5 separate regions of the Homo sapiens genome follow, and all the other regions are linked to region 1. Evidence: promoter capture Hi-C in 16 types of primary human blood cells and fetal thymus (Javierre and others, 2016). All regions are on one chromosome and are shown on one strand. Each heading gives the region's core, a stretch centred on a gene start or on the middle of the fragment in contact. The rest is flanking DNA. Distances are from core to core; before and after follow the strand shown. Region 1 holds the start of CLEC18C (C-type lectin domain family 18 member C). Region 2 has its middle 17 kb from the start of CLEC18B. Region 3 has its middle 25 kb from the start of NPIPB15. Region 4 overlaps GLG1 (golgi glycoprotein 1). Region 5 overlaps PSMD7 (proteasome 26S subunit, non-ATPase 7).

Evidence for each region. Contacts are between HindIII fragments. The CHiCAGO score rates a contact against its expected background, and 5 or more counts as called.
Region 2: a contact is called between a fragment that was not itself captured here and the fragment with the promoter of CLEC18C in region 1, in 1 of 17 cell types (M2 macrophages). The highest score is 8.0, in M2 macrophages.
Region 3: a fragment that was not itself captured here is called in contact with the fragment with the promoter of CLEC18C in region 1 in 1 of 17 cell types (M1 macrophages); the score reaches 8.9 in M1 macrophages.
Region 4: a fragment that was not itself captured here is called in contact with the fragment with the promoter of CLEC18C in region 1 in 1 of 17 cell types (M1 macrophages); the score reaches 8.7 in M1 macrophages.
Region 5: a fragment that was not itself captured here is called in contact with the fragment with the promoter of CLEC18C in region 1 in 10 of 17 cell types (M1 macrophages, erythroblasts, M2 macrophages and 7 more); the score reaches 27.0 in M1 macrophages.

Annotation. Positions count from the first base shown.
Region 1 is chr16:70,172,341-70,175,040 of GRCh38, reverse strand. It overlaps CLEC18C (C-type lectin domain family 18 member C), which reads right to left and starts at 1,254. Exons shown (of 13, transcript NM_173619.4): 1 at 1,090-1,254; 2 at 639-868; 3 at 3-94. The coding sequence starts at 762. LOC400541 (a long non-coding RNA gene) reads left to right here and starts at 1,593. Exons shown (of 3, transcript NR_126007.1): 1 at 1,593-1,913. The HindIII fragment of the contact is 29,094 bases long and covers 1-2,700 here.
Region 2 is chr16:74,437,219-74,439,918 of GRCh38, reverse strand. No RefSeq gene overlaps it. Among named protein-coding and RNA genes, the nearest start is that of CLEC18B, 17 kb to the right of the region's middle. The HindIII fragment of the contact is 7,294 bases long and covers 1-2,700 here.
Region 3 is chr16:74,349,831-74,352,530 of GRCh38, reverse strand. It overlaps the pseudogene PDPR2P. Among named protein-coding and RNA genes, the nearest start is that of NPIPB15, 25 kb to the left of the region's middle. The HindIII fragment of the contact is 3,869 bases long and covers 1-2,700 here.
Region 4 is chr16:74,477,169-74,479,868 of GRCh38, reverse strand. It overlaps GLG1 (golgi glycoprotein 1), which reads left to right. Exons shown (of 26, transcript NM_001145667.2): 12 at 2,336-2,473. Among named protein-coding and RNA genes, the nearest start is that of CLEC18B, 57 kb to the right of the region's middle. The HindIII fragment of the contact is 2,859 bases long and covers 1-2,700 here.
Region 5 is chr16:74,303,135-74,305,834 of GRCh38, reverse strand. It overlaps PSMD7 (proteasome 26S subunit, non-ATPase 7), which reads right to left. Exons shown (of 7, transcript NM_002811.5): 6 at 1,441-1,532; 7 at 1-546. The coding sequence ends at 102. Among named protein-coding and RNA genes, the nearest start is that of PSMD7, 7.7 kb to the right of the region's middle. The HindIII fragment of the contact is 736 bases long and covers 957-1,692 here.

The sequences.
Region 1 (2,700 bases), core at 5-2,504:
ACCAGCCTCCGCATGTCAGCCGCAGGGGGCTGGACCCAGCTGCGCAGGCGGTTGTGCAGGGAGAGGAGCAAGAAACTCTCCTTCCTGTTCAGGGCTGGGGTGGAGAGAGAAGGTCAGGCAGCCCGAGGATGGGGGGACCTGAACCCAACACACGGCAGAATAAGCATGTGTCCCTGCCCTTGGAAAACAAGATGGGAGAGGAGTGTGGTGGGTGCAGGGGACGTGGGGCATAGCAATGGAGCGAGGCTGAGAGAGAGACCAGGTACAGCAGGCGTGGGCTGAGTGCTGGGGTTGGGGTGGCGGGAGGGAACAGCGGTGCGGGCTGGGTGTAGGGGCCAGCCCTGGCTCCCGCAGGCCCCTGTCTGGGGCTCCTCCGGGCCACGGATTTCTCCAGGCCCCAGCCACAGCGCTCCTCGGCGTTCCTCCTTGACCCCAGCCCTGGTCCTCCTTCCTCCTCCTTCCTCCCCAGTCCAGCATCCACCCCTCACCGCCCCCGGGCTGTCCCAGGGCTTCCTCATTAAACCACCCGCACGGCCTGGGGCTCAGGCCTGGGACCGGGCTTCCAGAAGTCTCCTAGCACCCACTCCTCAGAGCTCATAATGGTGCCTCCACCTACCTCCTCACCAGGTGTCCCTTACCTCCGGCCATCGGAGCCTGCTCCTGCAGCTGGGGTGGCCACACCTCTGCCCAGGCGGTGCCAAGGAGGGCCAGGAGCACAGCCAGGAGATGCCCCCGGCCAGGGGAGGTCTCTGGATGCAGCATGGGTCTGTTGGGCCCGTCAGGCACTCCGTGCACAGCCTGGCTCAGCCACCCGGCTTGTTTCTCAGGCTGGATGGAGCTATTCACAATCTCCAGGAGTCAGGCTGGGCTGGTGGACAAAAGAGGGAGGCTGGTGAGTGAGTAATCAGTGTGTCCAGACAGCCTCCTGTTGGCGCTGGCATGAAAAGAGACAACTCCGGGGGATGCCTGCCTGCTCCGGCCTCGGCCTGGCCAGCCCGCCCCCGACAGCAGGCAGAGTGGCGTGCACTGACCCGCGGCCCCTGCTAATCATTGTGGGATTATTAGCACCCTTGGGGAGCCCCCAGAGACCCCGCTGATTGGCCTGCGGACATTCCAGTGCTGCAGATTAGTGACCGATGGCCGTGTCCTGGCTGGGACAGTGTCCTCCGAGCCCACTGATGGCTTCCGCTCCCCAGCCCCGGGCCCTGGGAGGAGGACCTCGGCTATGGTCCTTCTGGTGAGCAGAAACTGGGCAAGACCCCAGGGGAGTTCTTTCCTTTCTTGGGAAGCTCGTCCCAACCCCCCAGCCATGAATTAAACATAGGCAAGAGGTAACCGCACACCAGAGGGGTGCAATCTGTGGGCTCAAAGGGGGGTGGGCTGAGGCCGCACCTGCACGAGGAAAAGGGTGCCTTAGGAAAGTCTGTCTGGGCAGGGTCGGGGGCTGGGCCCAGCCCCGGTGCCCACCACCCTCACCAACGTGACTACAGGCCAGGGGGGGAGTGAGGCAGGAGGAGTCAAAGCAGGCGGGGACCAGAGCACGTGATGCCCTGGGCTGACTCCAGTCCTGCTGGGATCACGTCCGCCTCTAGAAAAACAGGTGGCGTAGCAGGTGGGCAGCACGTTGCCATGATGTGCCGTGGCCCGGCCGTGGCTGGCGTGATCCCACCAGAGTGAGCTGGAGCAGATCTGCACCATGGGCCAAGTTTCTCAGAAAATACATAGCTTCCTGTGGGCTGCAGCCTAATGCCCACGTTCCTCTCGGGGAAGACCAAAGGTTATTCAACCAGGGCAAAGGACAGCCTTGCAAACCAACTACGTCCTCCTTCTGGAGTTTGTGTGACCCCTGGCCCCTGAGCCCACACCCTCTCGGAGCGGGGTTCCAACTCCGTGGAAGCTCTGCTGAGATGCAGGTAGGGTTGGCTTTCCTGGGGAAACACCAGTGGAATGTGGCTATCGTCATGGGTGCCAGGGATGGGGATGAGGCCAGGCATACAGGCCATGAAGGCGGTCTGGAACTGCATGTCCCCCACAATACCTAGGGGCTCAGGAGTTTCTTCTCCCTCAAACAGAAACCCAGCACCCTCAGGGTCACTGCGTGTGGGTCCTAGCAATGCTTAATAGCTACCTGTTTTTTGATGTATTTTTATTTTTATTTTTTAGACAGTTTCACTCTGCCACTCAGGTTGGAGTGTTATAATCTCAGCTCACTGCAGCCTTGACCTCTTGGGCCCAAGTGATCCTCCCACCTCAGCCTCCCAAGGAGCTGGGACCAGGTGTGTGCCACCATGCCTGGCTAATTATTATTATTTTTTTTGGTAGAGACAGGATTTCATCGTCTTGCCCAGGCTGGTCTCCAACTCCTGGGCTCAAGGGATCTTCCCACCTTGGCCTCCCAAAGTGCTGGGGTTGCAGGCATGAGCCACCACACCTGGCCGAGCCACCTGTGTTTATGGAGCTCACAAAGCCTGTTTGCATGTGTGAGTTCAAGTTATTGCCACAAGAACCTGGTGCAGTAGCAGATGGGATGCCCGTCGTGTAGATGAGGAAACGGGCTTAGTGTGTCTAAGGGGCTTGTCCAAGGTCACTCAGCGAGTGCATGGAGCATCCCAGCTAATCCAAGGTCTCTGCCTTCCCATTCCCAACGCTTTAATTCACATCCTGATCTTTCCCAGTGCAGTTTCCACAGCTCTGCTATGC
Region 2 (2,700 bases), core at 1-2,500, 4.3 Mb before region 1:
GAGGCCAACATGGTGCAGCACTCACTGGACACAAGTGTATGGGTCACTCCTCCAAGCAGCAGAGAACACTGAGAGGCATCTGCTAACAGCTAACAGTGGAGGGTTTTCTGTTGCTCTCACTCTGCCGCAGAGAAGGAAACTGTAAAATAATTAGTAGGTGGATCCCAGCCCTTTTTTTTTTTTTTTTTTTTGAGACAGAGTCACCCGGGGTGGAGTGCAGTGACGCAATCTCAGCTCACTGCAACCTCCGCCTCCCAGGTTCAATCGATTCTCCTGCCTTGGCCTCCCAAGTAGCTGGGATTACAGGCATGCACCACCATGCCCAGCTAATTTTTGTGTTTTTAGTAGAGACAGAGTTTGACCATGTTGGCCAGGCTGGTCTCAAACTCCTAACCTCAAGTGAGCCACCGTGCCCAGCCAAGTGGATCCCAACTTTGGCTGAACTTCAAAGAGCCTCCATCAATAACTTGCCAGAACTTGCTGGTTACAGGTTGTCAAGATGTCTGTGCGTTTGGCCCTGTCTAATCAGCTGCTTCCTGGGGAGGATTCTGTTGTCGTTGCTTTCATTCGGTTACAGTTTGTTTCACTCAGCTATAATTGCAACTCGCAGGGAAAAAAAAGAGGCTGAGGTGGGAGGATGACTTGAGGCCAGGAGTTTGAGATCAGCCTGGGCAACATAGTGAGACCCCATCTCTTAAAAAAATTTATCTGGATGTGGTGGTGCACGCCTGTAGTCCCAGCTACTCAGGAGGCTGAGGTGGGAAGATCGCTTGAGCCAGCAGGTCAAGACTGCAGTGACCGTGATTGCACCACTGCACTCAGCTTGGGTGACTGAGTGAGACTTTGTCTCAAAAAAACAAACAAGAAAACATAAGTCTCCTAACTGAAGGACAAGTCACTAAGCATAAACTGACCAACGGGCAGACTGACGTGAGAGTCAGTAGTATGAAAGGTCAACTCGAGGATCTGCTATGCCTTAATGACGGGGTAGGGTAAGAGAGGGGAAAGCATTCGAGTCTTCCTGAGAAGGTTAAGTCTAGTCACTTGGCAATGCCTGGTAGGAAACGCAGGAAACAATTAAAAACACTCCCACAACCCTGAGGTTGGAGCTTCTCGATGTGGAGTATCAGATCGCCTGATGAGCACAGGCAACTTTAAAATAAAGGCAAAGCGAAGTTTGCTCAGTTACATATCAGTGTAACTGTCAGTGTTCAAAAGTGTTCACAAGAGCAGCAGTAAAAGGATTTAATTACATGTTGATAGGAAAAGACTATTCTGAGAATGACCACTGTCAGATATGAAACAGGAAACCCACAGCTCTATGGGGCTGTTGGAACTGATCAATCAGCAGATAAAGCCAGAGTGGTTTTACATAAGCATTGTGATCATAGGCTATCATCAGAGAGCCTAAAACCAAACCCCAAGGGGAAGGAGAGGAAGAAAAGCAAGAATTTTCTTTTTTTTTTTTTTTTTTGAGACAAAGTCTAGCTCTGTCGCCCAGGCTGGAGTGCAGTGGTTCAATGTTGGCTCACTGCAACCTCCGCTTCCTGAGGTCAAGAGATCCTTCTGCCTCAACCTCCTGAGTAGTTGGGATTACAGGCGTGCGCCACCATGCCCGGCTAATTTTTTGTATTTTTCTTAGTAGAGATGGGGTTTCACTATGTTGACCAGGCTAGTCTCGAACTCCTGACCTCGTGATCCACACCCCGCTTAGCCTCCCAAAGTGCTGGGATTACAGGCATAAGAATTTTCCATTTTTAGTTAGGTGGACTTTAAGAGAAGTATTGCCTTATGGAGCAAAGCACACATATGCATCACTATGTTCCCAAAAAATCACGTAAAAAGAGAAATGATTCACTTGTGCTTTTCATTATTAGTACGTTTTACCAAAAAACAAAGCTATAAATAAGACTGATCTCTAGGCTGGGTGTAGTGGCTCATGCCTGTAATCCCAGCACTTTGGGAAGCCAAGGCCAGAGGCTCACTTGCAGTGAGTTTGAGACCAGCCTGGCCAACATGGTGAAACCCCGCGTCTACTAAAAATACAAAAATTAGGCAGGCATGGTGGCACATGCTTGTAATCCTAGCTACTTGGGAGGCTGAGGCAGGAGAATCACTTGAACCCAGGAGGTGGAGGTTGTAGTGAGCCAAGATGCACTTTAGCCTCCTAGCCTTGGTCTCAAAAAAAAAAAAAAAAAGGATTGATGATATAAAAGGTGAAGTATTTGGGAGATGGGTTATCACTTCCATTTTAGAGGAGAAAGCTAACAAGCCATCTTCTTTCAAATACTTACTTGCTCTGGATAATATTGAGAAAAGAACTACTCAAGAGCTCTGGAAACTGAACAAAAGCAGGCAGTTTTCAGAGGGGAGTCAAAACTTGGAACAAACAATCTGTAGCACCTGGGAGCTAAAACACCAATAGTGGCTGGGCTTGGTGGCTCACACCTGTAATCCCAGCACTTTGGGAGGCTGAGGCGGGTGGATCACGAGGTCAGGAGTTCAAGACCAGCCTGGCCAACATGGTGAAACCCCATCTGTGCTAAAAATACAAAAATTAGCCAGACGTGGTGGCGCGTACCTATAATCCCAGCTACTTGGGAGGCTGAGGCAGGAGAATCACTTGAACCTGGGAAGCAGAGGTTGCAGTGAGCTGAGATAGCGCCATTGCACTCCAGCCTAGGTGACAAGAGCGAAACT
Region 3 (2,700 bases), core at 90-2,589, 4.2 Mb before region 1:
AAGCTCAGAGAAGCTGATTTACCTGCCCAAGGATATTGAGTGGCAGTCCCAGGATTCATCACAGGCCTTCTAACTTATAATCTAGTGGATTTTCCACTCTCCCGTCCTACATTTGGTCTGATCTGTCTCATTTGGGCTCATTTTTCTTACAGGTTACACAAGGACAGGCTCAATCTTTCTGGCCCAAACTCAGGACCGACTGATCTCCCTGAAGCGCATCAACGCAGGGCTGAAGTACGTAAGAGTCTAGAAGCGTGTCCTGACTTTACCACACTGGCCTCTGCCAAAGAGCCTGTGAATGTCATTGTCCCTTGTGTTCTGTGGCAGTGTTATAGGTATCCCTTCTGAGATCATCTCCCCCAAGAAAGTGGCCGAGCTTCACCATCTCCTCAACGTGCACGACCTGGTGGGGGCCATGCATGTTCCTGAGGATGCAGTGGTGTCTTCCGCTGACGTGGCTCTTGCCCTGGCAAGTGCTGCCTCCCAAAATGGTGAGCAGGTTTTTGCATTTTCTTAAGATAGGTTAGCAGGGAAGACATTACCTAAGGAAGTGTCTCACAGTAGGAAGTGACACCAACTCAAGTTTGGAAAGATTATCCTCTTTGGGGTACTCAGCCTCCATTTTGAACACTTATAATTTTATTTATCTGTTAATGAGTGTTTTCCCTCAGGGCCACATTTTTAAAGTTCTAAAGAACTGCTTTTAGTGCTAATTAATGCCCGTTTTTTGGAGACGGAGCTTCACTCTTTTCGCCCAGGCTGGAGTGCAGTGGCACAATCTTGGCTCACTGCAACGTTCGCCTCCTGGGTTCATGTGATCCTCCTGCTTCAGCCTCCCGAGTAGGTGGGACTACAGGCGTGCGCCACTACACCCAGGTAATTTTTTTGTGTATTTTTAGTAGAGACGGGGTTTCGCCGTATTGGCCAGGCTGGTCTTGAACTCCTGACCTCAGATGATCCACCTGCCTCGGCCTCCCTAAGTGCTGGGATTACAGGCGTGAGCCACTGTGCCCTGCCAATTAATGCCCTTTGGACTTAAGGTAATATTTTCCCCCACAGGACTTGAGAAGCTCAAGGTGAAAACACACCTTGGAAGTTTAATCCACACCTGAAATCATAAGCCCAGTTGCATTGAATGAGGGGAAGACTTAACTAGTGTCCAGGGTATCATATCCATGGTATGAGCAGGTTAGCACTTAAGGCGCACTATTTACATCCTCTCCTCTTTGCTCCATAGTTTATGATTCCAGGAATTTAATTATTGTGTTCCAAAGTCTGTTTTTAAACTGACTTGCTATTTTCAATCTCGAACAAGGCCCATTTACATAGTCTCAGGATGTGATTCTAGGGTTTTGTGTTTTTTTTTAAATGAAAGCATTGAGCCGGGCGTGGTGTCTCATGCCTGTAATCCCAGCACTTTGGGAGGCCAAGGCAGGCGGATCACCTGAGGCCAGGAGTTCAAGACCAGGCTGACCAGCATGGTAAAACCCCATCTCTATTAAAAATACAAAAATTAGCAGGACATGGTGGTGCATGCCTGTAATCCCAGCTACTTGAGAGGCTGAGGCAGGAGAATTGCTTGAACCCAGGAGGCAGAGAGCGAGCCAAGATCACACCACTACCCTCCACCCTTGGCGACAAAGCAAGACTCCGTCTCAAAAATAAAATAAAAAAATAAATTAAAGCATTGACTTGACTTTGTCAGTGTTTCTTCTGGGTGGAGAACCTGCTGCACATGCCTTCATTCTGGAACATCAGATGAAGCACCAACTCTTTCTTTACCTTGGAACAGGTGTTCAGATCTATGACCGGACATCTGTTCTTCAAGTAATGGGCAAAAAAGGTCAAGTTACTGGAGTGGAGACCGATAAAGGACAGATTGAATGCCAGTATTTTGTCAACTGTGCTGGCCAGGTAGGTCAGCACCAACACTGATTTTCTTATTTAACGTATGTCTCCAAGATTTTTTTGGTGTAGAGAAGTAAGGTTAGTATTGTGATTCATTACACAGATATCAGTAACTATGCTGTTTCTTGTAGGGTATTCTAAATCAGAAACCTACACTTAGTCTGCAAATAGAAGCCTGTGTGACCTTGTCCTTCCTCCACACTGGGTTGATGGGTGCTATCCTGGTCAGGAAGGCCAGCAAATGGTCAGGCATTGACGTGAATCCTTGGCGCTGGGTCTTGGTGTTACATTTCATTCTACAACCTAGCAAATAACATATTAGGCTATTTTATTGTGTCAGGAATGTGGACACTAATTTCCGGGACACTGCTTCTTTTAAAGCAGATTGGCTCTTGCCTTCCATGCTATGATCCCGAAGTGAACTAAGAAATACTTTTGCCACGTGAAGTTCATTTAGTGATTGCTATTTGGGGTTTGTAGCTGAGCCCAGGCGTTTTATCAAAAGGACCTCCTTTGGTTCCCATGAGCTCCTTTGACTAGCTGGTAAATATCTCTTCCTTTGATCTCAAAGTAATTTTTATGTCTTAAAAAATGTAGTATTGCTCCCCATCCAAATAATTGAACTAAAGCAGGCTGACTTCCCACACCTGACACTGTAGCAAGAGCACACATAAGCCACTTGGAATTAATCTCAAGAGGCTGAACTTGCTCATTTTTATTTCTGTTCCCCTTCCCACCCACAAATCAACCTGTCCATTTGTAGTGGGCATACGAGCTGGGTCTGTCCAACGA
Region 4 (2,700 bases), core at 138-2,637, 4.3 Mb before region 1:
GCTGAACACATTTGCATTGTCTGCCCATGGACTGGTTGGAGCAGAAACCTCCATACCTCAGTCTCTTGGTATTTGTCTGCCCCAACTGCTGCTTTTTGTTGGGATGTTTGTGTGTGCTGGGGTCTCGGCAGCATCGGCTGCTTCCCGGTGCGCACTGACATGCACTTGTTCTCCACGATGGCTTTCTCTACCTTCTGAGATGCTCCATTATCAGTCCTGCCTTTGTTCCGGAGAGTTGAGATGGTATCACTTCTCATCCATCCTTAGAAATACCCCTTCTGAGCTTAATGCAAAAGCCTGGCTATCTCAAATCCAGAATGAGGGGACTCAGAAGGAAATGGCATACATCAGTTGCTGCTCCCTAACCCAGTGTTTATACTGCTGTGTGAGAAAACGTGGGAATTTGTTTTTTTTTTTTTTTTCTCTCCATATAATGAGCCTCTCATTAACCATGGGGGCTCCCACATCCCGGCATCTTTCTGGTCACTATAGTGACTAGGGGGTAGGAGGTTTATTCTCTTTTAAATAAGAAAGAGTTGGAGTCTGTGGTGCTGGTTTTCTTTTCTTTTTTTTTTTAAATTGAGGTGAAATTCACATAACATAAAATTAACCTTTTTTTTTTTTTTTTTTGAGACAAAGCCTCACTCTTGAATGTGTCTCACTGCACCCCAGGCTGGAGTGCAGTGGTGTGATCTTGGCTCACTGCAACCTCTTCCTCCTGGCTCAAGTGATTCTCCTGCCTCAGCCTCCCGAGTAGCTGGGATTACGGGTGCCTGCCGTCATGCCTGGCTTTTTTTTTTTTTTTTTTTTTTTTTTTGGATTTTTAATAGAGACGGGGTTTCTCCATGTTGGCCAGGTTGGTCTTGAACTCCTGACCTCAGGTGATCCACTCACCTGGGCCTCCCAAAGTGCTGGGATTAGAGGTGTGAGCCACTGCGCCTGGCCAAAATAACCCCCCCCTTTTTTTTTTTTTTGAGACGGAGTTTCACTCTTGTTGGCCCAGGCTGGAGTGCAGTGGTGTGATCTCGGCTCACCACAATCTCCGCCTCCTGCCTCACCCTCCAGATTAGCTGGGATTACAGGCATGCGCCACTACGCCCGGCTAATTTTTGTATTTTTAGTAGAGATGGGGTTTCTCCATATTGGTCAGGCTGGTCTCGAACTCCAGACCTCAGGTGATCTGCCCGCCTCAGCCTCCCAAAGAGCTGGGATTACAGGTGTGAGCCACCGCTCCTGGTCTTAACCATTTTAAAGAGAAAAATTCAGTGACATTTAGTACATTTACAGTGTTGTGTGGTCATCATGTCTGTCTAGTTTCAAAACACTCCATGACTCCAAAAGGAAACCCTGTGTTCATTAAACAGTTACTTTCCATCCCTCCTGCCCCAGGTATGCTGGCTTTTTTTTCTTTTTTTGCAAGAGAGACTAACTGTATCTGTCAATAACAGCTTTGTCATGGCCCTTGGAAAAATACTAGTTTTCACCTGCTTTACCCTCTGCTAATTCTTCATAGCTCATCTAGAAGAGTCCAGTCCTATCTCATAATGTTATATCTACATTTTCCTGCTTTTTCTGATTTAGGTCAATTTGAACTCATTTCTCCTGAGTCAAGTGTATATGCTCTCTTGAATTGGATCTGACCTTCTACCTGGTGTTCATAGACTGACACATTAGTTTTGCTAAGCAAAACAACAAACACAAAACTTTCCAACTAACCTAGTCTGAATGAAGCCAGTTCACTTTTATCAGGATACTGTCATAAAAGAATGTTGTTTATATAGTATATTAGAAACTGCTGAATATGTATAATCGCATTGCTAAAGATATGGGCTTTTCGAAGCCTCTTGCACATTTTATTTATTTATTTATTTATTTATTTATTTATTTATTTTTTTGAGACGGAGTTTCGCTCTTGTTGCCCAGGCTGGAGTGCAGTAGTGCAATCTCAGCTCACCACAATGTCCACCTCCCGGGTTCAAGCGATTCTTCTGCCTCAGCCTCCCGAGTAGCTAGGATTACAGGCATGTGCCACCATGCCTGGCTAATTTTGTGTGTTTAGTAGAGACAGGGTTTCTCCATGTAGGTCAGGCTGGTCTCAAACTCCCGACCTCAGGTGATCCGCCCGCCTCGACCTCCCAAAGTGCTGGGATTACATGCGTGAGCCACCGCACCTGGCCGCAACATTTAATTTTTATTCTGGAAGATATTTGAGGTATAAAATTTGGGAGATAAAATACAGGGTTATTTGTTAGTTTCCTCATAGCAGGTTTATCTCATATCTTTGTGTTTTTGTTTTGTTACCTTTCAAGTATTTAGCTCATTTTTTCTCATGCAGCTCTCACGGGAGTGCCGAGCTGAAGTCCAAAGGATCCTACACCAGCGTGCCATGGATGTCAAGCTGGATCCTGCCCTCCAGGATAAGTGCCTGATTGATCTGGGAAAATGGTGCAGTGAGAAAACAGAGACTGGACAGGTAGGTGACATCGCTTTCTGTTTGTCTTACAATAATGATGATGTTAATGTTTAACATTTTATGCAGAGTACAAACACCATAAAATCCATCTCTCTTTACCTTACAGATGTGATTTGTTGTATTGTTCAATATTTTCTCTGGAAGAAATTCTCAGGAAAATTTTCTCTCTGGTCTTTGTATCAGGAATAGTTGGCAGTGAGTTTGTGTTTGCATTATAGTTATTGTAT
Region 5 (2,700 bases), core at 75-2,574, 4.1 Mb before region 1:
TTCTAATAAGCATGTCAAGTGAAAAAGAACCCTCTAGCAGCACACTGATTTAGTTTGTAAGATTTTAATTTACAAATTAAAAAAGCTATTTAATACATGTTTTACTTTTTCTCCTTTTTCTCCTCTTTCTTTACATCACTCTTTTCCTTATCTTTATCTTTCTCCTTGTCCTCTTTCCTATCCTTTTTGCTCTCTTCTTTCTCCTGCCCTTCTTTCTTCTCTGCATCCCGGTTGGCAATCTTGTTGTTGATGAGGTTGTGCAGGGCGACCACGGAACGGATCAGCGAGGCCAAGTACACTACCACCATCTGGTCATTGGTCTTCAGGTAAAAGGCCTTGACGAACTCCTGCAGGCTGACATCTGGCAGCAGGTTGAAGACGTCCTGCAGCTGGTAGATGATCTGGTGGTTGATGGGCAGCTTGCCTGTGGCGACTTTTTCCAGGTAGCTCCTGATATCCAGAAGCTTGGAGTTCAGTCCCTTCAAACCATGGACCTGGTTTGTGATCCGCTGGGACAGAGTGCCCACCGTCGTGTCTTTGATATCTCTGTAATAACCCACAGTTAAAAAGGGCAGGAAAAGGCATCAGGGTACCATGTTATCAGGCAAGTTCTTACATTCTAAGAAAATTCCTAGCTTTGTTGGGTGAGGCAAGTTTTTAAAAGAAAAATGTCACTTCCCCATTTGATAAAGATTTCGTTATCAATTACCTTAATTTCGTTATCATTTGGAACACATTTTATCTTTCTCATCACAGGACATTTTTCAAAAAACAATTATAAAAGGGAGCTAAAATAAAACCATTTCCACTTAAGGAAAAAAAAATTGCTTAGGTCAACAGTTCAGATCTACCAATAACTTTCTGGGTAACCTTGTACTGAAGCTGTCTCTCTCAGCTTTCCTGTTCCTAAAAGGATGGCATTTTCTCTACATGCATCTCCAGAATATTGAGAAGCTTAACTAAGATGGTAATTTTTAGAACTAGAAGGAACCTCATTGACTGATAAAACTATAACCTTTTTCAAATAAGGATTATAATAGATATAGGATTTTAAAACAAAAGCTACTCCAAGATGAAGATTCTCTCCAGAAAATGGGCTACATTTGTTGAGAAGGACACCTAGTGGAGAGTGCAGGCCTGCATTTATTTCATACCTCTCTTCCCGTCAGTCAACATTATAGTTTCCAGACAAGGTATGCTATCCACAAAGTCATAAATTGTAACTCAAGACATTTTACAGTTGATGTAGTTCAAACACTTCAATTTACAGACAATAAAACAAAGGTCTGGAAAGGGACTGTGATTTGCTCAGAATGGCAGACTTGTTAGTGGACGGCCAGGACGAGACCCCAGGTCTCCATATTCCCGACACAGACCTCTTCCTTACACTGTGTGACCTCTCGGGCAGTGAATGATTTTGATGCTGTACTAGGGTCTCACCGTAACAAGTGTTCAACTCCAACTTCCTCAGCTTCCTCTGCTCCAATTTCACTGGTCACGTGTTCAAATGTTTTCGAGGTTGGAGTTCCATCCTGGGAGAGGAAGCCTAACTATAATTATTTATTTTCCACAAACGAACTGACATGTGTTCCTTTTCGCACCCTGAGTCTTTTGCTTTAAGTCAGCTCATTTAATGAGTGCATGACTGAGAATTTTCTATGGCAAGGGTGGGTAAGGCTTACTTTGAAAGCTTAGCCTTCAAAGCTAACATCACTGTGGTGCTGCTCAGTGATGCAGTCTGCTGGGGCACTGTGCGTTGAGAAAAATCTGGAAATTCCCTCAAGCCCACACTTGGCATGAACGCACAGGGAGGTCTCAGGTTGATTCTTAAAAGTATACCGCTTTGGCCAGGCACGGACCTGTAATCTCAGCACTTTGGTACGCCAAGAATTCGAGACCAGCCTGGGCAACATGGCGAAAACCCCTCTCTACTAAAAATACAAAAACTAGCCAGGTGTGGTGGCGGGCGCCTGTAATCCCAGCTACTCTGGAGGCTGAGGAACGAGAATCACTTGAACCTGGGAGGTGGAGGGTGCAGTGAGTCGAGATCACGCCACTGCACTCCAACCTGAGCAACAGAGTGAGATTGTCTTAAAAAAAAAAAAAGTATATAGTTCTTTCTAGAATGGACAATATACAGAATATCTGTACTGAAGCAAGTTCATGCCAGAAAATAAAACTTTTAGCCCTTTTTTGTCTCTTGGATCAAACGATTCCACAGTGCCCAAACCAATGCAATCAGAATAGTTGGCTTTCTGGTGGTCTGAATTAATCAAAGGATCCATTGGGGACATGGTTCATGGTGGTCACCCAGTGACATCCTGAAGGGACTTCGAAGATACTTTTCTCAGACCTTGTGCCAGAAGAGGCTGTACGTCTCCTGTCAAAAGGCTGTAAACTGTCTGTAAGGGAGGAAGGACAGCATAGTGGTAAGAGTACAGGCTCCACAGCCAGGCTACCTGGGTTCAAATTTGGCTCTGCCATGTATGTAATAGGCGAGCTCCAAGACCTTGGGAAAGTCACTCAACTCACACTAAGTACTATAAAAGTTAGCCGTGATTATTTTATTTAGGATAGTGTTAATCCTGCAAGGGGCATTCTCCTCTTTGCTTTGGATGCCAGGATGGTCAGAACCTTTAACAGTGTTGTGGGATTTCTTGGTAACCTTTACAGGCACTAATTCTTCTTGAGCTTCACCTT